Linked DNA regions of Homo sapiens: all the other regions are linked to region 1. The links are contacts of gene promoters, found by promoter capture Hi-C in blood cells and fetal thymus (Javierre and others, 2016). All regions are on one chromosome and are shown on one strand. The core of a region is centred on a gene start or on the middle of the fragment in contact, and the rest is flanking DNA. Distances in the headings are between cores, read along the strand shown. Region 1 holds the start of BCLAF1 (BCL2 associated transcription factor 1). Region 2 overlaps AHI1 (Abelson helper integration site 1). Region 3 overlaps AHI1 (Abelson helper integration site 1). Region 4 overlaps AHI1 (Abelson helper integration site 1). Region 5 overlaps AHI1-DT (AHI1 divergent transcript). Region 6 overlaps AHI1-DT (AHI1 divergent transcript). Region 7 overlaps AHI1-DT (AHI1 divergent transcript).

What was found. The method cuts DNA at HindIII sites, captures the fragments that hold promoters and counts their contacts. A CHiCAGO score of 5 or more calls a contact.
Region 2: a contact is called between a fragment that was not itself captured here and the fragment with the promoter of BCLAF1 in region 1, in 1 of 17 cell types (fetal thymus). The highest score is 5.7, in fetal thymus.
Region 3: a fragment that was not itself captured here is called in contact with the fragment with the promoter of BCLAF1 in region 1 in 11 of 17 cell types (naive B cells, fetal thymus, monocytes and 8 more); the score reaches 10.0 in naive B cells.
Region 4: a contact is called between a fragment that was not itself captured here and the fragment with the promoter of BCLAF1 in region 1, in 10 of 17 cell types (non-activated CD4 T cells, total CD4 T cells, fetal thymus and 7 more). The highest score is 8.6, in non-activated CD4 T cells.
Region 5: a contact is called between a fragment that was not itself captured here and the fragment with the promoter of BCLAF1 in region 1, in 12 of 17 cell types (endothelial precursors, fetal thymus, M2 macrophages and 9 more). The highest score is 9.2, in endothelial precursors.
Region 6: a contact is called between a fragment that was not itself captured here and the fragment with the promoter of BCLAF1 in region 1, in 1 of 17 cell types (fetal thymus). The highest score is 5.4, in fetal thymus.
Region 7: a fragment that was not itself captured here is called in contact with the fragment with the promoter of BCLAF1 in region 1 in 1 of 17 cell types (naive B cells); the score reaches 5.8 in naive B cells.

What each region holds. Positions count from the first base shown.
Region 1 is chr6:136,288,033-136,291,437 of GRCh38, reverse strand. BCLAF1 (BCL2 associated transcription factor 1) reads left to right here and starts at 1,592. Exons shown (of 13, transcript NM_014739.3): 1 at 1,592-1,725. LOC124901408 (a long non-coding RNA gene) reads right to left here and starts at 1,424. Exons shown (of 4, transcript XR_007059784.1): 1 at 1,281-1,424. RefSeq lists enhancers at 897-1,016, 1,337-1,556, 921-2,120, 2,067-2,186, 1,605-2,201 and 2 more. The HindIII fragment of the contact is 10,003 bases long and covers 1-3,405 here.
Region 2 is chr6:135,431,222-135,434,626 of GRCh38, reverse strand. AHI1 (Abelson helper integration site 1) reads left to right here. Exons shown (of 29, transcript NM_001134831.2): 16 at 1,371-1,600; 17 at 3,313-3,405. Among named protein-coding and RNA genes, the nearest start is that of AHI1, 65 kb to the left of the region's middle. The HindIII fragment of the contact is 4,268 bases long and covers 22-3,405 here.
Region 3 is chr6:135,448,150-135,451,554 of GRCh38, reverse strand. AHI1 (Abelson helper integration site 1) reads left to right here. Exons shown (of 29, transcript NM_001134831.2): 12 at 3,080-3,265. Among named protein-coding and RNA genes, the nearest start is that of AHI1, 48 kb to the left of the region's middle. The HindIII fragment of the contact is 1,853 bases long and covers 1,229-3,081 here.
Region 4 is chr6:135,487,752-135,491,156 of GRCh38, reverse strand. It overlaps AHI1 (Abelson helper integration site 1), which reads left to right. Exons shown (of 29, transcript NM_001134831.2): 5 at 410-534. Among named protein-coding and RNA genes, the nearest start is that of AHI1, 8.3 kb to the left of the region's middle. The HindIII fragment of the contact is 4,311 bases long and covers 1-3,405 here.
Region 5 is chr6:135,515,319-135,518,723 of GRCh38, reverse strand. The region is part of intron 2 of AHI1-DT (AHI1 divergent transcript); the gene reads right to left. Among named protein-coding and RNA genes, the nearest start is that of AHI1-DT, 19 kb to the right of the region's middle. The HindIII fragment of the contact is 1,302 bases long and covers 1,087-2,388 here.
Region 6 is chr6:135,544,487-135,547,891 of GRCh38, reverse strand. All of the region lies in intron 2 of AHI1-DT (AHI1 divergent transcript), which reads right to left. Among named protein-coding and RNA genes, the nearest start is that of AHI1-DT, 48 kb to the right of the region's middle. The HindIII fragment of the contact is 1,147 bases long and covers 1,163-2,309 here.
Region 7 is chr6:135,650,611-135,654,015 of GRCh38, reverse strand. All of the region lies in intron 3 of AHI1-DT (AHI1 divergent transcript), which reads right to left. Among named protein-coding and RNA genes, the nearest start is that of LINC02524, 18 kb to the right of the region's middle. The HindIII fragment of the contact is 1,410 bases long and covers 810-2,219 here.

The DNA.
Region 1 (3,405 bases), core at 343-2,842:
CTACTTTGTAGATTGGGAAAGCATCACGTATCAAATGGATCTATTTCAAGGGAAGTCTGTATAACTTCCACTTACTAAAGGCTTTGTTCCAAAGGATCTCCTTTGTTACTACCTCATGTTATGTAAATAAAATCATAATCAGTTATATTGCCTCAAATAGATACTTCATTTTCAACACATGTGCAATAGAATTGCAGAGGGAGGTCGAAGATAATATCCTAGCCTGCAATTTGGGGTATTTTGAATAAATGAATAACAGCATGTATTGGGAGCGCCCCGACTCCCAATACATGCAGAATAGCAGACGTGTATTGAGCCCTTAGTTGTTTTTTTTTTAAATATAGTTCATTCACTCAACAAATATTTCTGAGAACCTGCGAATGCTTGGGACATCAGGGCACAACAAAAAGGCCAAGGATTTCTGTGTCCACATCCTGAGGTGGTAATGGGGTGAGGGACAGACTGTACAATAAAAAACCTACGATTCACTCCATGAAAATGTTGTCGTTTTTCTAGTTCAGCTGGTAAACTGGACTGTGAAGAAAGAATGCTCTAAGCACAGTGTTAAATTCACAACCAGGGCCCAATCCTAGTTTCGATTCACTCACTGACACCCTGGTTGCTAATTACAAGTCTGAAATCCATCAAGGTAGTTAACATCTCTAAACATCAAAGCAATAGCGGTTTTAGGCCCTAAGAAAGTGCAGCCCGGAGAAGTATTAATGCAAAATGTGCTACGGCTGTTATTTAAATTCTATTCAAATCGAATGTGGCTTGCCTATTTATAATCTGACTTATAATTCTGGACAACCAAGCTACGTTGGGCTGTGTTCCTCGGCTGCCACAAATCATCGTCACAGGCTGAAAGCTCAACTGCTTCGTGCTCTTTATTTTTTCATGCCTATGCCAACGTTGCCGATGTGGTAAAGCTGTCATCACGCCGCCAGAAGGGCGGCCTTCTTTGGCACGAGCAGCCTAAGAGGTTTCCGGCTGCTGCGGCTTGAGCTCCGATTTGATCAGACGCCACGAAAGGGATTTAGATCGTGGCCATTTTTCAACTAAGTGCGTCTGCCGAATTTAATAGCAAACCAAAAGCCACATTTTCTAATCTCCAGTTAGGCGTCCAAGAGGAAAAGTGGCGCTTGCTGGCTGAGGGAGCAGCGTGTCTGCAATTACAGCCACGTCTTGCCTCCTGGTCTTTTCCTCAGTGTGGGATTGTCTTTTTGTTTTTTGCCTGGTCTGAGCCGGCCCCACAGAAAGAACAGACCAGACGAGCTTACTGAGGTAAAACGCAGGGGCGGCGGTGAGGTCTAGGGGGTCTACTCAGAACGAGGCAGAGACACCAGCGAAAAGCGCCGTATGGCGAAGCTAACTCAGGCCTGACAAAACACCCACCCTACTCTACCGCCTCTCCGGCCAAGGCTGACGCTACGGGCCAGAGGGCGGAGCCGTCACATCTTCCCGCGAGACCAGCCACGCGACTTCCCAGAAGGCCGCAGGCAACATCTTAATAGCAGCCAGGAAGCCGGACCGGAGCGGAAGGGTGGGCGGGGCTTGCCCGCATATTTAGCGGCACCCGAGGCCACGCCCCAGATCGGAAGTGACGGAGACGTGCTAGCGCGTCGAAGGTAGCTCTATGGTTTTCCTCGCGTTCTTGAGTCGGGAAATGGCCGCTGTGTGGTTGCAACGGAGATAAATTCCCGGAACCGCGATTCGGCGTGTCAGGTAGGCCTCGCAATGTATTCAAGTTACTCCAGGGGCAGTGAAGACCGAGGACAGGCCATATTTTTGACTCTTTTGTGGGTGGTGTCGGGTTGGCGGCGAAAGGAGAACCAAGGAGACGTTGCGCCGTTATTTATGCGTTTTTTCGTTAGCTTCTCTCAGGTTTTCGAGGCACTACGGGCCGAAAAGGCCGGGCGGGGGCGCTGAGCAGTGCTAACGGCGGGCGCGCGCGTGTTTGCGAACCTGCCTGGAGACCCACAGCCCGCGCGGCCTCCCGTGCGCGTGCGCATATCTTCCTCTTCCACCCTTCCCCCATTTCTTCAGCCCGTACCTCTGCGCGCGCCCGACTGAACGCTCCGCGCACGCGCGCTCGTTCATTTTTCTCTCCCCCGCCTATGGCGCCGACGGCCGCTGGAGGTGCAACTTGTGTCCGCCTCTCATTGGCTGGGACTGCCACCTTTCTTCGTGGCCTGTGGGGTTTTGAGAAAATAACTGTGACCCGCAGCAAAGTGCGTTGAGTAGGTCTACCCCTTTTCGCGTGGTCTTTAAAACTGCCCTCCGGCTTCAGACCACCCGTCAGTTAATGCCTCGTTTTTGTGATGCTACTAGGTTTTAGTGCTCTGTTCTGCCTCTCGCTGCTGACCCTGGTTCTCTGGAGTTAATTTCGGTACCCGCGGCAACCTGCTGTTTTGAAGCGAGCGCGCGCTGTTGACTGGTGCTGGTTGCCTAGTTACGGTTCCCTAGCGAGAGGATTGGGTCTTAGCTGGTGGTTCTGAGCGTGGCCCTGCCCCATCCGGCTGAAAGTGCGGTTCTTCATGAGTACTAGCGAAGCCGAGTCTTTTCAAGTGATTCAGCCCATTTAGTCGTGTCAGAAATGTTGCAGCCACGATTGGTGGACAGCTGGTGTGAGAAATGGGTGGGAGTGGCGAATTGGACTTTGCCTTCATTTTAAATTCATGAGTTGGCTTGATTCGCTTTTAAGATTTATTTCTTCAGAATCAAGCTGAAGTACCAGCAGCTACTTTGCTACCTCAGACTTTTTTAAAAAGCATTTTAGAACTGGAAACAAATTAAGACTGAAGTTGAAAGCAAGTGTGGCTAACACTGACGAAAAAGATGAGCTACTTCAGACTTGTACCTCACTGCAACAGCCTCTTTTAAATTTTTTGGTGTTACAAAGCAAAACAAAATTTCTTGTTCCTCTTGTGAATTCTCATTTCAGTTCGACTTTAGTTGGAATGGTTAGGATACTGTTCAGGCAGTAAATAACCTTTACGTAGGAAAAACTGCTACAAGGCTTTTGTATTTTTGTTTGATCATGACCAATTCAGGATAGGTAATTTGATGGGAGGGAAAAAGTGGCCCCTCGGCGGGAGTTTGAGGCTGCTGTGAGCTGTGCTCGTCCCACTGCACTCCAGCGGGGGCAACAGAGCGAGACCTTGTCACTTAAAAAAGGTAGCTCATGGTAAACAACCTTGGAGCACCTTCTCTTAGTGATTTCATGTTTCAACCAGTACATTGTGGTGAATACTGAAATATCTTGTTTAATTCAGATAATTAAAATGGTGGCAAAGGAAGCTGTTTAGCCAGAGCCCTTCTTGACTTTGAGGAACAGTGGTAGTATAAGACTTGAAGACAGACGTGTAAAAAGTACTACTCACTGGTAGGCTCAGGTCTGGTTGA
Region 2 (3,405 bases), core at 906-3,405, 860 kb after region 1:
TCAGTTTTTACACAAAAAGCTTTACTTTTATTTTTTTAATATTATGTCTGTTTTAATTATATTGAGCTGTTTTGAAGATGTATTTGCTTCATTTCTGCCTGTTATATAGTATTTTAAATAATGCTACTAAGATTTATTACCAAACAACTGAGTTTTTCATCTATCTTTTTAATATTTTCCCAAAATTAGTGGTTTTTTCTTTTAATAGGCATCATATTTCATATAAATATGCTTATTGAGAATACACTGTGGTAAAAATGCTTGTGCAATTGATTCATTCATGGGCTTTATTTTTACTCGAAAACATGTTCTTTCACTTCCTCTATTATTAGTTTGGATTCTTAGTAATTGAAGATCATATCCTATATTGTAAGCAGCTGCTGAGGAAACTCATAGAATATTTTTCTTGAATAGAAACTGTTTTTTTTTCTCTTATCAGTAATCTTGTAACAGACTCAATTTGCTTTAGTTTTCAAGCAGTAATTAAAAGGATGAATACAAATCCCATATTTAAAATTAATATGTTCTTCTAATTTTGATAATTTAACAAAATATATTTAAAAATCCAATGCTTCACACTTATATAGCACCTGTATATTGGTAGATTTCACCTAGTTTTATACATTGTTAGAAATGCAGAGTATCTAAGAGGTTAACCCTTAAGGGTTTACTCATTTGTCAAGACTGTAGCAGTGATAATAATCTTAATTTTTTTTAGTTAGCCATTATTTAGAGGACAGGATAATGAGTGTTAAACAAAAAGAACGTGCTTAATGTAGGATAGTCTTTTCTATCAAAATGTCATAATTATTTTAATCTTATTTTACTTGAGAATTCAAAATATAATAATTTTAGTATCTCTTAAATCTTTGAGATCTTCATTTTTACTATCTAGGCTTTGAAATTACAAATATAAAAGTTAATAGACTATTCTATTCTCTAAACCCCCATTAATAAACACTTTGTAAAAGTGGTATACACAACCTAAATGGGAAATCATTAAAGTTTCTCCCTATATATTTTTTATGTATATTGTACTAAATGCAATATTTTACCAACTGTTCAATGTGTGTTTAACCAACAGCAAAATAGGTAGGTTTTAAAAAGTTATTAATTTTATAGTATAGATTACAATTAGTGGATATAATATGCTGGATAATAACTATAACAAATAACTTTGTCACATGTGAAAATTCCAGTCATCAAATATGAGATCATCATTATATTTTTCATTGTTTTAAAACTTGGTTTACCATTGGTCGTTGTCACTTGCTTGCTTAAGGTTCATTGGCTGTGTTGGTTCTTAGAAAAACTGTTAAAAGAAACTTCTGCTTTTCAGAAGCAATATGTAACTTCTTATCCTTTTCCAGGATATGGAAAAATGAAATAAACAATACAAATACTTTCAGAGTTTTACCTCATCCTTCTTTTGTTTACACGGCTAAATTCCATCCAGCTGTAAGAGAGCTAGTAGTTACAGGATGCTATGATTCCATGATACGGATATGGAAAGTTGAGATGAGAGAAGATTCTGCCATATTGGTCCGACAGTTTGATGTTCACAAAAGTTTTATCAACTCACTTTGTTTTGATACTGAAGGTATGTCAGAGACTATGAATGAAGACCAGCTATGTGAAGAATTTTTTTTTACCAGAATAATAGTTATTTAGGCTTGAGAGGGTTATGTACTGATGATTGCGCATATTTAGGTTTATGCTTATTTTGCAGGTCATATGATAGATATGACACTAAGGGACTTCTGTTTGTAATTTTTAAGTTTTTAAATTCTTAAACATTTAGATTCAATTAATCTTTGCTATAACAACCAGTCATGTGCCAAATTGCATAAATATATTTCTTTGAACTGGTGATTATCATTCTTACTTTTTCTTCAAGAACCTTAAAATTTGCAAACATATAGAAGGGAAATTTGCAATTATTTAAAGTTTTATCTTGATATAAGAATAATATGGTGGCCGGGCGCGGTGGTTCGTGCCTGTAATCCCAGCACTTTGGGAGGCTGAGGTGGGTTGATCACAAGGTCAGGAGATCAAGACCATCCTGGCTAACACGGTGAAACACCATCTCTACTAAAAATACAAAAAATTAGCCGGGTGTGGTGGCATGCACCTGTAGTCCCAGCTACTTGGGAGGCTGGGACAGGAGAATCGCTTGAACCCTGGAGGTAGAGGTTGCAGTAAGCTGAGATCGCGCCACTGCACTCCAGCCTGGGCGACAGAGTGAGACTCCATCTCAAAAAAAAGAATAATGTAGTATGTTTTAAAGATGTAAAACGTAAATCATTTTATTATCTGAAAGAATGAAGAAATTTATTGTATCTATTAAATAGTCACTTTTTACATAATTTCAGAGACTGGGCATGTAGGCTAGCGCTATAATTAATTGGTATGGGATCCAGATCAAAAGGATAATACTGCTGATTTACTCAGTTCAGCTGTAGGGATGTTAATAAATTTGGAACATATTCAGGAAAGACTCTGAATAGAAAGGTATCTGAAAACTAACTCTGTCATAATAGCAGTAGTTGAGATTATAAAAGAGACATAAAGACTTTCTTCAACTATTTGGCCATACGATATCCAAATGTGCAAAAAAAAAAAAAAAAGGAAATTGGTCCATGTTACTCCAGTGGGTAGAGGTGGGCCAAAGCTGTAGAAGATAGATTTTCTTTGTTCAGAATTAGAAAGAATATTTTAATACAGGAAGCAGTTCACCAGTTGAATAGCTGTTTTATAAAATACTGAATTCACAGTTGCTGAACAGCCATCTGTTAGTGGTGGTGTTTGAGATATTCCTGAGTGGGTATGAAGTTGAACTTAATGGTCTCTGAGGTCTTTCAATTTTAAGATTATTTGACTCCAAAGAATTGATGTTAAACTGGTGCATATTAGAATATAGGTATTTTTCTAGGAATCCAAAACAGATTTATGGGTTAATAAAGATGAGAAATAATGTTACATGTCGGATGGTTCAAATTATTTGGCTTTGGAATATAAGCCATATACACATGTACTGAGAGGCTCATTTCTTTTTATAGTTAAATTCAGGTAAGTGAAAAAGGGAAAGAAGTCATCAAAAATAATTTAAAAGAGTAAAGAATTCATTTAAAGATAATTGGGGTTTGTTTGTGAGTTACATTTTGATTTTTGGCTTTTTTAAACTGAAATACCTTTTAATAGCCCTTCAATTCTTTGACTGTTTTACTGGGGTATAGTTTCCCCCGATTTCCTATTATTTGTTTCTAACTCTGTGTGACATTCATAAGTGAGTGATCTTATTTTTTTAAATAGGTCATCATATGTATTCAGGAGATTGTACAGGGGTGATTGTTGTTTGGAATACCTATGTCAAGATTAATGATTTGGAACATTCAGTGCACCACT
Region 3 (3,405 bases), core at 906-3,405, 840 kb after region 1:
GTCTTCTTCATTAGACTGTAAGCTTTTTAGAGTCACCAATGACTTCTTTTGGGTAAATATGTTGAACATTTTTAGTCCTTATTTTACTAGGTCTTTTTGCATTTAATATGTCACTCTCTTGAAACTCCATGCTATAATATCACCAGCTCCCAGCATATTAATGTCACATAGAAAGTGTTTGGTGAATATATATTGAGGGAATTAATCATTGATGATAGAAAGAGTGGCAAGGATAAAATTCATCTTCAAGAAAGTGGCATGACGGATGCAGTAGCTGACTCCTGTAATCCCAGCACGCTGGGAGGTGAGGTGGGCCGATCACTTGAGGTCAGGAGTTTGAGACCAACCTGGCCAATATGGTGAAACCCTGTCTCTACTAAAAATACAAAAATTTGCCAGATGTGGTGGTGTGCACCTGTAATCCCAGCTACTCGGGAGGCTGAGCGGGGAGGATTGCTTGGACACAGGGAATGGAAGTTGTAGTGACCTGTGATTGTACCACTGCACTCCAGCCTGGGTGACAGAGTGAGACTCCATCTCAAAAAAAAAGGGAAGTGGCATGAAGACAATTAAAATTTAAATCTTTTATTACCTATCCTGTTGGTACGAGGGATGTCTTGGATAATTGTTAAGTTATTACAGTAATTCAAATGAGACTTTATCCTAATTCTCAGCTATGCCTCAGATTCTCAGGTACTTTCAGTTCTTTTAGTACATATATGTGGCTATTCTTTTAAACTAAAAAGTAATAAAGCCTTATTTATCTGAGCTCTACATTATATAATTTATAACCATAATGGCAGGGTCTTGGCTGAATCTTAGTTGTTTACTCAGGCTAAGCAACGTATTAATGTAAACTAAATTGCCTGTTTAAATTAATCTATGGAAAGTATGATTTAGAAGCTGGGGAATATCTTTTTAAAATTACCGTGATAAGCTTTGGGGAGCTGTAGGAGAGTTTATCAAGGGAGTCTCGAGTGCTTATGATTTAATGACTGAACATATCTATTACTCAATTGGGAATGGTTCTTTACCCCTGTGTGTCATTTGACACTAATCACAATGTCACCCGCTCAGCTTATAACCTCCATTGTCTTTACATTCTTTCCTAAAGGGGTAGGGGAAAAGATGGGCTATATTTTGCCATCTCTTTTTCCTTGTTGATGCATCATTCCTTAACTTATCATTCCTGAACAACGTTCTGAATTTTGCCTCTGCCACTAAAGCTTCTCCAACCAAATCACTAGTGATTTCTGTTTGCTAAATATATTGAACATTTTTTAGTTATTTTGTCACATCTATGCATTTAACATATCACACTCTTGAAACTCTGTTACCTTGGTTTTCTTGACACCATCCTCTCCTAATTTTTCTTATACCATTCTTTGAGTTTCCTTCATGGTCTTCTACCTACCTCCTTAATATCAGTCTTACTCATGGTTTCATCTTTAACCCACTTTTCTTGGAACCACTTTTCTCACCTGTGCTTCAGATTTGTAAATTCAGTCACCTGCTGGACATTTCAGCTTGGATGACTTATAGATATGTCAGATTCCTCCAAACTGAGTATCCGTGCTACTCTCTCTGCCACTTCAATTGGTGGTACCACCATCTGTCCACTCTCCCAGATTTACGAACTTAGAGTTACACTGTTTTGGTAGCTACAAGTCACATGGCTGTTTGAATTCAAATTAAATATAATTAAAAATTTACTTTCACATTTGTGCTAGCCATACTTCAAGTGCAGGGTAGCCACATGTGGATTCCGTATTGGTTAGCACAAATTGGTTAGAGTATTCCCATCATTATAGAAAGCTCTCTTGGACAATACTATCTTAGAGCCTTTCTTGCCTCTTTGTTTTTTTTTACTTTCCAAGTTACATAAGTCTACAAGTAACAGTTGTTAAATGTGTTCCCTGCACTCAGTGCCTATTCTTCTAATTTAAGATATTAAGTTACATGAGTCTACAAGTAACAGTTGTTAAATACCTTCCGGGCACTCAGTGCTTATTCTTCTAATTTAAGATACTTCATGTTTTGTGTGAACTGTTGCAAAGGGTTCAAACTATCTTTCTGCTCCTAATTTGCAGAAGACATAAAGGTTAGAAAGACGTTTCATTTCCTATTTTGAGTCATGGTCTAATGAAAGAGAACGTATTCTGAGTTGGTAAGATTTTTATGTTTCTCATAAAAATCTCCATTTAGGGCCAGGCGTGGTGGCTCACAACTGTAATCCCAACACTTTGGGAGGCCGAGGTGGGCAGATCACCTGAGGCCAGGAGTTCAAGACCAGCCTGACCAACATGGCAAAACCTCTGACTATACTAAAAACACAAAAATCAACCAGGTGTGGTGGCATGCACCTGTAATCCTAGCTACTCGGGAGGCTGAGGCACAAGAATCACTTGAACCCAGAGGAGGTGGAAATTGCAGTGAGCCAAGATTTTGCCACTGCACTCCGGCCTGGATAACAGAGCGAGATTCTGCCCAAAAAAAGAGACAAAAACCTCCATTTAGTTAGCTTAAATATAAGTTTTGTTTAATAGGGTTTTAAAAATAGACCTTTGAAAGAAGATATACTAAAATACTGAAAAAAATGTAACGAATGGCTTGAATGAGTTTAATTATCTTGAAATGATTTTAACTTTTTAAAAATTTAAAACATAAAATTTTAACCATTAAAAATACTGATATTAAACAAATGGAAGATTTGTGTCTTGTGTAAATATACAGTTTAGTCTTTATCATAATTATTTCAAACATGTGTATTGATCACTTCCTTTGTTCAGCGTGAAATCTGGCACAGTAATGTAAATGCTGTACCGACAGTCTGAAATTGTTGTACACGTGAAAAGAGAGCTATCAGGAAAATATTTTAAAAGCCATTTGGGCTACCTTTTGTCAAAAATGATCTGGAAGTGTGCTTAACTAACTATTTAATGTTCTTTGCTTTTTAAAACTAAGAAATTTCAGCATGCCATATTAATCTTTTAAAAATGTTTCTGACTTTATGCTATTGCTTTATTGGATATATTTATTTTCAATGAAGGTAACATTTTATATGAATTCTTATTTTAAGCTTCTGGGAGCCAATGGAAATGCAAACATCAACTCAAAACTTCGCTTGCAGCTATATTACCCACCTACTAAGCCTCGATCCCCATTAAGTGTTGTTGAGGCATTTGAATGGTGGTCAAAATGTCCAAGAAATCATTACCCATCAACACTGTACGTAACTGTAAGAGGACTGAAAGTTCCAGACTGTGTAAGTTAATAGTACATATTAAGTGTATATCATCTAGTGTTGAAATTAAATGGTGACATAGCATGTTTTTCATTTCTAAAAAGATAAGGCCTCTAATAATAATTTTAATAGATTTCTGGGGTTATATATTAAGCCTGTAA
Region 4 (3,405 bases), core at 641-3,140, 800 kb after region 1:
GCTAGGCACACCTTAGCCATTTTTCATGCAAAATGATCTTTGGCATAAGATAATTGTGATTTTACAGATAAGGAAAATGAAGTTTAGAGATCTTGAGTAACTTGTCTAAAGCCACATAACACGTAACTAACAGTGGTAGATGCTACTGTTTATCAGAAATAAAAAGTTAACTTAGCAAAGGAGACTTTTAGAGTGAGTGGCCAAAAAGGTCAGAGGGATACAGGTGAATGTTGTGTCACTAAAGTCAAAATAAAAAATATTTTAAGAAGGAAAGATAGGTGAGTTTTTCTAATGTAGCTAGAGAACTCATGCCGATATTTACAAGAACTTATTTCTTAACATCCTAGTAGTGTAGGTTGTGTGTTATGATAGAGTCATTTACAAAATCACATGGCTGTATCTTTTGTAGCTGAGAGTGAAGCAAAAGTAAAAACCAAAGTTCGCTTTGAAGAATTGCTTAAGACCCACAGTGATCTAATGCGTGAAAAGAAAAAACTGAAGAAAAAACTTGTCAGGTCTGAAGAAAACATCTCAGTAAGTAAATGATCATTGGGTAATAGTGATTTACATATGCGCATAAAATGCAGATATGGCTGCATTTTATGTTAAAATTCTAAGGAATTTTGAAAATTAAAAACAGTAACACTATGTCATGGTCAATAACATGTGGTAAAAATAAAGTTTATATTAGAATCAACATCACTGTGAGAATATTGACTTCATTCTTGAGTGCTGTCCTACAGGAAGAACACACACACAGTGGGGAAAATGACCAGAGATAGTGGGGAAACTCAAAACTAGCCATGATAACATTTTTGAAGAAAATATTTTTAACCCAGAATTGTGAAGAACTTAGGAAGTAGTATCTTAACTTCAGATATTGAATAGCTTGTGCTTATTTAAACTATTTCTGTGTGATTCTACCCAACAGAACCAGGAGAAATCAATGGCCGTATGGTAATAATTATCCTTTTATGTTTGAGGCACACTTTCAAATGATAGAATCTTTGGCAGCACACTTGAAGGAATTAAAAATACAGTGCTCAAAGACTAAGCAAATCAGCAACTAACTACAACCTGATCCCCTTGGAATCATAAAGAGTCTGTATTGGCATCCACAGTTAATGCTCTATGCCCTCTTTATACCTATCTCCCTACTTGAGTTGCACTTTTTACTACTTTGACCATTATCTCTTCTGTCCTCACAGAAAAAAATAAACAGGCTCTTGTGTAAATGGTACATAGTTTTTTTTTTTTTTTTGGCAGGAGTTTTATAATGAGTTATAATCCTACATTTTGCTTGTAGTAAGATTTACCCCATTTTTTCTTAAGACCTGTTCATTTTAGTATTCTGTCTGGCAGATGTCAATGTAACAATATAAATTCTGAAGTGAGGCAAAAACAAGTAGTAAAATTGACCAAAATCCAGCTGCACATATGTGAGGGTTCATAGTGTATACACTGGTGTACGACTGCACAAAAATTTCGAACTACTGACAGAATGGACAGATTAGCACTCCCATAGTGATTGCTGCTCTGAAATAGCATGTGCTTTTTCTGGTGGTACTAGTGCACAATATGGTAGGGAATAGTGACATGGAGGATGAAACATTGCTTATTGATATATGCGCTCCCCTCAGATGGAGTGGTTTATGTTGGGCAAAAGCAAAAAGAACCCTGGAAACAGTTGTCTGCAGAGATGTTTTATGCTCAGAGAAGAACCTCATATTGTCTCTTAGTATTAAAGAACTGGGAGTTGTGAGCCATGAACAAAATGCAATTTAGACCAAGGTTTAAATTAAATGGATAATCAGAATAGGCAGAGGCTATGTCCATTTACCTAAGGTCCAGTTTAAATGTTGAGGGGCACATAAGTGTGAGGTGACTAAGCATAATTTATCCAGCCTCTCTTTGCAAACACCAGGACTGAATAGGCTTCTTTTCTTTCAGAAATAAGTACACTAGGAACAAATATTTGGGAAGATATTTCGCAGCTCAAAAGAACAGGAATATTTCTAAAGGACTTAGAGGAGAACAAAATATTTTTGACATGATTAACTTGAGGAAGTAAAAGAGGAATAGCTGCTTTCATTTGCTAGATGCCTTAATGCTTTCTATCTTTAGGCACTCTTCTAAACACTTTATATATATTTAGTCGTTTAATACAAACGACGAAATTACAGGGTTTTATTTCTGTACAGGAGAAAACTACATCAGAAGTTAAGTAACTTGCTGAAAGTTACATAGTAAATGGTAGAACCAGGATTCAAACACTGAGTGGAAGTGCAGAATCCACTGCCTTAACCACAACCCAATATTATCTATTTTAATGAAATTTGAAAAGATAGGACTTCTTCTTGAAAGAAGAACAGGGAGTCCTATGTACAGAACAGGCTGAGATGAGAAATGGAGCAGTCTGAAATAAAATTAAGCGAGGAAAAAAGTCAAAATAGGGATTCATAATAATGGCAGGTTCATCTTATATTCCAGTTATATATAAGGCACAATAATAAGAGTTTTACAAATATTATTTCTAAATCTCATGTTAATCATGCAAGATAGATATTGGGATTCTTTTTTTGCACATGAGAAATTTTATAAACAGACAAACAGACATGTTAGGTGATTTCCTTAGGTCATTTAGTCTAAAATAGGATAAGTGGGATTTAAGACCACAGTCTCTGCAATTTTAAAGTTCATGTTCTTCAGTTGCTTCCTTAAAACTATATCTCAGGCCTAAAATGATGGAATTGACACTACGGAAAAATCTAATCAGTGAAGTGGGAGACAAATTCGAGGTGGGAAGAAATGACCAAAACTAAAATGAAAGAAATAAATGATGAGGACATAGAAAGATATTTGACCCACAAATAAGTATCCCGGGACAGTACTAGTGGAGCAGAAACAATAATGAGCATGATGAAGAAACCTTGCTGAGATTTCTGAAGAGATGAGTCATCCTGCATTCCAGGCAAAATTTATGAGATGAGAACTATATCTAGAAAATTCTTTTGTTTGTATCTTAAGAGTCAAATATTGCAGACACCTAAACACAAAAACATATAGTACATTTGAGACTTCTCTGTAAAAACACTAAATCCAAAAGACAATGGAGAAATATTTAGAGCACTAAGAGAAAAATTGTAGCCTGAGGAATCTGGTCACCTAAGTTGTCAGTCATTTGTGATGGTAGTTGTAAACATATGTGCATTATTAGAGAAATATCAGTGTTCCCTCCCTGGAAAAAAAAAAAGATTTAAGATTTATTAAAGATGTAGTACCATTTCTAGATATGAATCAAAGTTAAGAATTTAAGAATAGAACATCTTAAGATCTTAGAGGAAGGGATGAAGAGAAGTTGGTTAAGGAGTACAAAAATATAGTTAGAAGGAATAAGTTCTAGTA
Region 5 (3,405 bases), core at 488-2,987, 770 kb after region 1:
AGTCATTAAAGAATTCTGAGCAGGAAAGTAACATGATAAAGAGCCTTGGAAAGCCATGAGAAAGATAAAGAAGGGTGAGACCTTCTGTTTCCAGGGACTTCTGCATCATCCAGGTAAGGCATGATGAGTGGCTGTGGAGAGAATGGAATGGATATCTAGTTGATAAAATGTACAGCAATTAATATAACAGTTAACGTTCGTAACATCTATCTGTCAGGCATTGACACTGTGCAGTGACTAGGAATCCAGGCTCTGAATCCAACTGCCTGAGTTCAAACATTATGTCTCCATCCATTACTAGCTATCATGGGCAACTTGCTCAGTTTCCCTGTATCTCAGTTTTCTTATCTATAATTAGAACCTACTTCATGGGACAGTAAGGATTATTCAGTATTCCCACAAAATACATGATCTTGTTCTTTTTTATGACTGCATAATATTTGTTTATATGTATGCACCATATTTTCTTTATCCAGTCTACCACTGATGGGCATTTAGGTTGATTCCATGTCTTTGCTATTGTGAATAGTGCTGCAATAAACATTTGCATGCATGTGTCTTTATGGCAGAATAATTTATATTCCTCTGGGTAGATATTCAATAATGGGATCCCTGGGCACAATGGTAGTTCTGCTTTTAGGATTTTGAGGAATCGCCATACTGGTTTCCACAATCATTGAACTAATTTACACGCTCACCAAGTGTATAAGTGTTCCCTTTCCTCCACAACCTTGCCAGCATCTTTTTATTTTTATTTTTTAGTAATAGCCATTCTGACTGGTATGAGATGATATTGTGGTTTTCATTTGCACTTCTCTAATGATCGGTGATATCAAGCTTTTTTCATATGCTTGTTGGCCGCAAGTATGTCTTCTTTTTCAAAGTATCTGGTCATGTCCTTTGCTCACTTTTTAATAGGGTTGTTTTTCTCTTGTAATTTTGTTTAAGTTCCTTATAGATGCTGGATATTAGACCTTTGTAATATGCATAGTTTGCAAATATTTTCTCCCATTCTGTAGGTTGTCTGTTCACTCTGCTGATAGTTTTTTTTTTTTTTTTTTTTGGCTGTGCAGAATCTCTTAAGCTTAACTAGATCCTATTTGTCAATTTTTGCTTGTGTTGCAATTGCTTTTGGTGTCTTCATGAAATTTTTGCTTGTTGCTCTGACCAGAGTGGTATTGCTTAGGATATCTTCCAGGGTTTTTATAGTTTTGAGTTTTACATTTAAGTATTTGATTCATCATGGGCTGAGTTTTTTACATGGTGTAAAGCAGGGGTCCAGTTTCAATCTTCTGTATATGGCTAGCCAGTTATCACAGCACCATTTACTGAAGAGGGAGCTTTTTCCCCATTGCTAGTTTTTGTCAGCTTTGTCAAAGATCATGTGGTTGTAGGTGTCTGGCATTATTTCTGGGCTCTCTATTCTGTTCCATTGGTCTATGTGTCTCCTTTTGTAAAAAAGTACCATGCTGTTTTGGTTACCGTAGTCCTGTAGTATAGTTTGAAGTCAAATACTGGGATGTCTCCAGCTTTGTTCTTTTTGCTTAGGGTTACCTTGGCTATTCAGACTCTTTTTTGGTTCCATATGAATTTTAAAATAGTTCTTTCTAGTTCTGTGAAAAATGTCATTGGTAGTTTGATAGAAATAACATTCAATCTGTAAATTGCTTTGGGCAGTATGGCCATTTTAATGATATTGATTCTTCCTATCCATAAGCATGTAATGTTTTTCCATTTGTCTGTGTCATCTCTGATTTCTTTGAGAAGTGTTTTGTGGCTCTCACTGTAGAGATTTTCCATCTCCCTGGTTAGCTGCATTCCTTTATATCAACAACAGCCAAGCCTAGAGACAAATCAGAGAGGCAATCCCATTCACAATTGCCACAAAAACAGATAAAATATCTAGAAATAAGGCTAACAAGGGAAGTGAAAGGTCAAGTTTATTGGGAACATAAATTCTTGAGTCAGAGTAGTGAGAGCTGATATATAAAGTAATGGATAGAGCCAAAGGCCTTTTTAAGGAAGAATTTATAGTACTTGGTAATAGATAAACTATAGAAGGTAAATAAAAGATGAGAAGTAAACATGACTAAAAGATTTTGAATTTAGAGTGCAAAGTACGAGAAATACCAAACCTAAGGGGCAAAGATGTTTTTAGGGCATTGAATTAAGATTTTTTGATGGGTTGAATTTTGGGTAATGATGTAACGTTTAAGTGGAAATATCTAGTTGGCTGCTGGATATTAAAAGTTTTTAGAGTTGTTAAGTATCTTAGGAATTACCATAGTCCAATTGCCTTATTGCCTTAGCAAGAAAACTGAGATCTAGAAGGATAAATAATTTATCCACTATAACACAAGTAATTAATATAGAACAAAAACTCAAGCTTTTTTGCACCCAATCTAGTGCTCTTTTGACTATATTGTACTGCCTTCTCTAACTGCTTGGTTAGAGCAGAAGCAATGACAAAATTATAACTATGGGAGAAAACTGTAGTGGTAAAATATATTCGAGTCATGAGATCTGTGAGGTAGAAAGTTTGGAGCATAAACAGCAAGCAATTTTCAATTTACATGCCAGCTCCAATAAATTGTTATGCCTCCTTAATATTGTATAGAAAATAATTTTGAACCTATATCCAGGCTTACCGAAAATGAATTATATAACCAATTAGTAATCACGGACAAGAGCAAGTTGGAGAAGTGGGTAGCATATATGCCACCTATTCCTATCACTGGTCAGAAAGTTGCAACCAGAAACATGGGAAAGAAGAGAACGTATTTGTAAAGATAACAGACAGCCAAATGTCATAATGGTCAGCCTTGCATACATTAATGACATTTTCTTTCTATTATTTTTTTCCTATCTTAAATGGAAGGTGTCAGATAAACTGCCGAATACTTACTGTTACCCTGGAAACATGAAGGACTTGAATATTTGTGGAATCATGACAGAACAGGTTGAAAAATATTAAGAGGCGAGAGCTAGAGAGAGAGAGAGAGAGCAAGAGAGAGGAGAGATACATAAACTGCTAATTAAATTAAGCTCTTTTACATAACCTAACTTATTTGTTCTGTACTTTCCCAGACTTTAGCTTAATTTGATTTTATTCAGAGATTACCTAGTAAAAATTCTTTTGAAATAAACTATATATGTGAAAGTCAAGATTGTGGACTAACCACACACATTTATATTATTTTATTCCTAATAACCCAGTAAGTGGTTATAAAGGATACATACACACACACACACACATTCACATACACAATTATTATATATATTTACATATATACACACATATTTTATATTTGTTGTTATGTATATTTTATATATATGTGTGTATGTATATATATTTGTTGTTATATATACTTTATATGTGTATGTGTGTGTGTGTTTCTCCATATA
Region 6 (3,405 bases), core at 487-2,986, 740 kb after region 1:
CTTCTGCATTGTAGGATGTTTAGCTTCATCTCGCTTCTCACTAGATGCCAGTAGCATACCTTCCACCTTACCCACCTCACCAGTTTTGACAATCAAAAATATCTCCCAAAATTGCCAAATAGCCCCTAATGTGCAAAATAGCCCGATTGAGAACTGCTGATGAATATAGTACTCACACTTTCCCTTGGGCCACAATAACATCAAGGGCCTCATTCTGCATTGCCAGCAAAAAGCTGTCACCATCGTTTATTTCCCCACCTTGCTTTTTCCACCAGGTGAATGACGGGAAAAACCAGTATCAGAAATATCAGGAGATTTTATAAATAAATAGAATAGATTAATCTTCTTGTTCTTTGGTTGAAGAAGAATTATGCAGTATAGCTGTTATGTTAATACTGTTATGTCTTAGAGGAGGGAAACAATTATAAAAGATAAATGTATTTTTGTTCTATTATTTCACTGGTTATATGTTAAAGAAAATGAACTTAGTATGAAAATCGCTCTCCCTGAACTTCAAGAGCTCCATAATGAAACCCAGTGATTCACCCTTTCTCAGTGAAGAATGGACTTCATAATCAAATGAAGAAAAAGCAGTTCTTCAAAATGAACAATAGTGCATTGCAGTGAAGCAAAATCCAGCACATGAAATGCAGATAACCTGCTCTAACACTTGCATGCCATTGGCTGCTGGTGTGCAGCCAAAATTTAACTGTCACCCTTGGAAGAACTGAGGAGTGAAGTCAACTCTTGATTTTCCACACTAATGGAAACAAATGTGTCTGACCTAGAAGGTCATCAATCTCCATCCATGAACGCAAGTGGGTGAGAAATATTTTTATTTCATTCAATCTAATTTTTCTGTCAAACCCTGATGCTAGGGCAAGGGTAGGAGGTTGTGAACATTCTACTGCTCTCACAACACTGTCTGGGAATTTTGCCACTTCCCTGGGTTTCTGCCAAGAATGGGCCCTCCGCCCATTGGTCACAGGGAACGACAGAGGGAGGGATAGGAACACAGGCCCGCGGGCCAAAGCCTGTGCCCCCTCCACATGCCCGCACCACTATGGCCCCCTCAATCTTGCTGCCCTTGCCACATTCCTAAGGACCCACCCTCCACGGTGTAGCCACACTTAAGCAGAAGTGGGAGCAGCCCCAGGAAGCTTCCTTCTAGGGCTGATCCAGCAGGGAATCCAGGTGGGATTGAGGGGACGCCTCTCCTTGGCCCCACAGAACCCGAGGGAGAAGCCTCCAGGGGCTCCAAGGTCCTTGATGGAACTGGGGCTCCCTCTTTGAAACCCATCCAAACGCACTGCCACCACATCCTCCCTGTTCCCTCTTTTCCCCTTCCTTTTCTATATAAACCCCTGGGAATCTTTTCCTCTCCAGAAGGCGAAAGCAACAGTCACCCTTGATGTTTCTCTTATATAATTTGGCTCTACCCAGAGACTCTCTATTGTCCTAAAGGAGTGAGCTTTTTGCCAGGAAGTTTCCTGAATTTGGGGAGTGTGGGGGAGTTGTTTCATTTGTTTTCTGTTGTCTACCATGTCATATCCTTTCCCTGAGATACTGAGTGGAAAGCAGCTTTGCTGCTTAAACAGCAAGGAGATTAATCAGTAGGAGGGAAAAGAGATGTATGTTTCTAAAAACATCATAATCAAAATATTGTAGGTGTATGTATTATTATTTGATTATGAGTCTATATTTGATAATGACTGATGTTCAGAAAATAGACAGAATAATGAAACATTATTCATTACTAAACTTTTCTATTACTTCTACCCAAACATCTTCATGCATTTCATTTGAATTAAAAAATATGGTAGTGCTGCTATTGTGTACATAGAAATTGAGAAGTCTATAGGCAATAAATCATATATTATGTGGGTAATTCCAATAAGAGGATATAAAAATCCTGAGTACTGCATTCTCCCAGTATTTATGCCAAGGGAAGACACAGATGTGTGCTGTTAAATGAAGATCCTAAACACTAATTGCATCTCCTGTATTCCTGATCTTCTAGGATTTCTACCAGAGCAGGACAAATTTGGGTCCTAGAAGGCACTATTAAGACAGATTTCCTATCTTCTGCCAGGCAACTGCTGTTGCCACCATAAGGCAATCATCTTGGGAACTCATTAATTCTGTTCCCTGTATACCTGGAGTAGGATTTCTTCCAAATGACTTTATCAGTTAAGTTTCTTTGGCTGTAAGCAACAAAGATCTTAAAATGCTAGCTAATTTAAGATTAAAGAAAATGTATTGATTGGCACAGCTGAAAATTCTAGAGTTGGAATGGTTTCAATCAAGCTTGATTACGACCTCATCCTTAGGGGCTGCCTGATGCTTCCTGACATCCTCAGTTTCTCACCTGAGGCAGCAGAAGAGCTAGCTAGCTAGCTAGCTAGCTAGAGCTAGCTTCCCAAGTAGTTCAAAGAAAAGACCAGACGTTTAAACCTGGGTCTTGTGCTGAACCACCCACTGTGATCATAGGACTCTAACCACAGCGACAGTCTGAGGTGGAGGCTGGCAAACTTTTGCCATAGAGGACCAGATAGTAAATATTTATGGCTTTGCAGGCCACATGGTCTCTGTCACAACTACTGACCTCCACCATTGTAGAGCAAAAGCAGCCATGCATAAATGGATTAGCATGGCTAAGTTACAATAAAACTTTATGGGCACTGAAATTTAGATATTATTATTTTGATTTTTGTTGAAGCCACTTAAAAATATAAAAATCATTCTTAGTTCACAGTATTTATAAAAATAGGTGGCATTTTCTTCAGTACATATTTTACTTGAAACACACAGAGTGAGGGAGAAATGGGTCCTTCAGAACAAAGTTAGGATAGTGAGTACCGAGCAAGCAACACAATGAGTATTCACCCCAGCACCATCATGCTTCATAGTTTTAGATCATGAGGGCTCAGGAAACTCATAGAACTTGTCCTGAAGCTAGAAACCCAACAAACAGCCACTCCCAGCTCCTCAGTGCTGTTCATAACCCCTACCACTCACCTCTAGAGTTATCCAGGTGGCAGAGTCCATATAGCTGTCTACTTTCTTTGACATCCACAAAGCAAGAAGGTCACCAGCGAGGATAGCTGTGCATATTCTGCATGTGGACCACGTGGTCAGTGCCCACTCCCAGTGTTACTGACACCAAGAAACATTATGGTTTGGGATAATACACATATTCTTTCATTTATTCAGCAAGGAGCTAGTTCTTAATCACCACTTATTGTTCTAGGCACTTACTGTTCCTGTAGCAGAAAACAAAAGAGAAAAAGCCCTGCTCTCATGGAACTTATGAATGAATGAATGAAGAAAATAGAAAAATAAAGCAGTGACATGGGTTAGGAAGTGTTGGGTGTCACTTTTTTTTTCATGAATTTTAATTTTTTT
Region 7 (3,405 bases), core at 265-2,764, 640 kb after region 1:
CTTGATATAACCATGTCATTTTTCTTCCTTAGTCTGTAGATGTGATGGATTGCAGTAATTGATTTTCAAATTTGAGCCAACCTTGCATACCTGGGATAAATCCCACTTAGTCATGGAATATAATTATTTTTATACATTGCTTGATTCAGTCTGCTAATATTTTGTTGAGGACTTTTGTGTCTATATTCATAAGAAATATTGATCTTTTCTCATAATGTTTTTGTCTGATTTTGACATTATGGTGAAGCTGGCCTCATAGAATGAGTTAGTAAATATTCCATATGCCTCTATATTTTAGAAAAGACTGTAGAGAATTGATATAATTTGTTCCTTAAGTATTTGGTAGAATTTACTAGTGAACTGATCAGGGTCTCATGGTTTCTGTTTTGGAAGGTTATTAATTATTAATTCCATTCCTTTAATAGATCTAGGCCTATCTGGATTGTCTATTTCTTCTTGTGTGAGTTTTATCAGATTTTATTTTTCAAGAAATTCATCTATTTCCCCTAGGTTATCAAATTTGTGGGCACAGAATTATTCATAGTATTCCTTTATTATCCTTCCAATGTCCATGGGCTCTGAAGTGAAATCTCCTCCTTCCAAAAGTAGTAATTTGTGCCCTTCTTTTTCCTAGCCTGGCTAGAAGCTTATCAGTTTTGTTATCTTTTCAAAGACCCAGCTTTTGGTTTCAAAAATTTTCCCTATTGATTTCCTATTTCAATTTCTTTAATTTCTACTCTAATATTTATTGTTTCTTGTGCTTACTTTGGATTAATTTGCCCTTTCTCTAGTTTTCTATGGTAAAAGCTTGCATGATTGATTTTAGATCTTTCTGCTTTCCTAATATATGCATTCAATACTACAGTAGTTTCCCCTTATCCACAGGCGCTATGTTCCAAGACTTCCAGTGGATGCCTGAAACCTTGGATAGTACCCAGCCTAAATGCTGTAAATCAGAATATGTTTCTATTTCTGTCTTCCAGCCACAAAATGTAACGCTTTTTTCATCTTAACTAGGCACTTACAGTGGCCATACTTTTGCAGCATGAGGTGTGACAACAAAACTAGCATGAATTTTTTTATCCTTCTTCACAATATCGTGGATAGAAGATTCATTTTTACCGTAGATGTTAGCAAGTTCAGCATATAATTTTTTTCTTTTCTTATTAAGTCAAGAATGTTCACCTTTTCACTTAAAGGAAGTACTTTATGGCTTCCTTCATATCTGAATTGCCAGCATTTCTACTTTTGTGCTTTGGAGCCATTAAGTAAAATAAGGGTTACTTGAACACAAGCACGGTCATATCACAATAGTCAATCTAATAACCAAGACTGCTCACGCCTGTATTCCCAACACTCCAGGAGGCTGAGGTAGGCAGATCACTTGAGGCCAGAAATTCGAGACCAGCCTGGCTCACATGGTGAAACCCCGCCTCTGCCAAAAAATACGAAAGTTAGCCAGGCATGGTGGCCTGCCTGTAATCCCAGCTACTCAGGGACGGTGGGGGGCTGGGGGGAGGGGGGCAGAGCTGAGGCAGGAGAATTACTTGAACACAGGAGGTAGAGGTTGCAGTAAGCCAAGACAGTGCCACTGCACTCCAGCCTGTGTGACAGAGTGAGACCCTGTCTCAAAAAAAAAAAAGACTGCTACTAAATGACTAATGGCCAGGTAGTGAATGTATATAAGGTGAACAAAGGAGGATTTACATCTCATAGGGGATGAAGTGGGAAGGCAAGAGATTTTATCATGCTACTCAGAACAGTATTCAATTTAAAACTTAAGAATTGTTTATTTTTGGAATTTTTCACTTAATATTTTCAGACTGTAGTTGACCACAGATAACTGAAACCACAAAAAGTAAAACTGCAAATGAGGAAGTACTACTGTGTATATTTCCCTTTACGCATTTTAAAAACTTGTGAGATGTTTGCTGCATCCCACAAGTTTTCATAAGTTGTGTTTTCATTTTCATTTAGTTCAAAGTATTTAAAATTTTATCTTGAGATTTCTTCTTTGACCTATGTGTTACTTAGAAGTATGTTGTTTAATCTCTAAGTATGTGGGGATTTTCCAACTACCTGTTTTTGATTTCTAGTTTAATTTTATTGCAGTCTGAGAGAAGACATTGATTGTATGATTCCTATTCCTTCAAATTTGTTAAGGTATGTGTTTTTTGGCCCAGAATATGTTCTATACTGGTGAATGTTCCATGTAAGCTTGGAAGAATGTGTATTCTGCTGTTGTTAGATGAAGTAGTCAATAGATATCCATTATAACCAGTTGATTGATGGTGTTGTTGAGTTCAACTCTGTTGTTACTGATCTTCTTGCCTACTGGACCTGTCCATTTCTAATAGAGGGGTGTGTTAAAATCTCCAATAATAATACTGGATTTAACTATTTCTCCTTGCACTTGTATCAGTTTTTGCTTACATATTTTGACACTCTGTTTTTATGTGCACGTATTAGACTGCTCTAACACTACTGATAAAGACAGACCTGAGACTGGGCAATTTACAGAAGAAAGAGGTTTAATGGACTTACAGTTCCACACGGCTGAGGAAGCCTCACAATCATGGTAGAAGGCAAGGAGGAGCAAGTCACATCTTACATGGATGGCAGCAGGCAAAAAGAGAAAGCTTGTGCAGGGAAACTCCCCTTATAATATCATCAGATCTTGTGAGACTTATTCACTATCACGAGAACAGCATGGGGAAGACCTGCCCCCATGATTCAATTACCTCCCACTGGGTCCCTCTCACAACATGTGGGAATTCAAGATGAGATTTGGGTGGCGACACAGAGCCAAACCATATCATTCCACCCTTGGCCCCTCCCAAATCTCATGTCCTCACATTTGAAAACCAGTAATGCCTTCCCAACAGTCCCCCAAAGTCTTAACTCACTTCAGTATTAACTCAGAAGTCCACAGTGCAATGTCTCATCTGAGACAAGGCAAGTCCCTTCTGCCTATGAGCCTGTAAAATCAAAAGCATGTTAGTTACTTTTTAGATACAATGGAGGTATAAGCATTGGGTAAATACAGCCATTCCAAATGGGAGAAATGGGCTAAAACAAAGGGGCTACAGGCCCCATGCAGGTCCAAAATCCAGCGGGGTGGTCAAATCTTAGAGCTCCAAAATGATCTCCTTTGACTCCATGGCTCATATCTAGGTCACATTGATGCAAGAGGTGGGTTCCCATGGTCTTGGGCAGCTCTGCCCCTGTGGCTTTGCAGGGTACAGCCTCCCTCCCAGCTGCTTTCATGGTCTGGTGTTGAATGTCTGTGGCTTTTCCAGACACATGGTGCAAGCCGTTGGTGGATCTACCATTCTGGGGTCTGGACGGTGGCCCTCTTCTCACAGCTACACTAGGTGGTGCCCCAGGAGGAACTCTGTGTGGGGG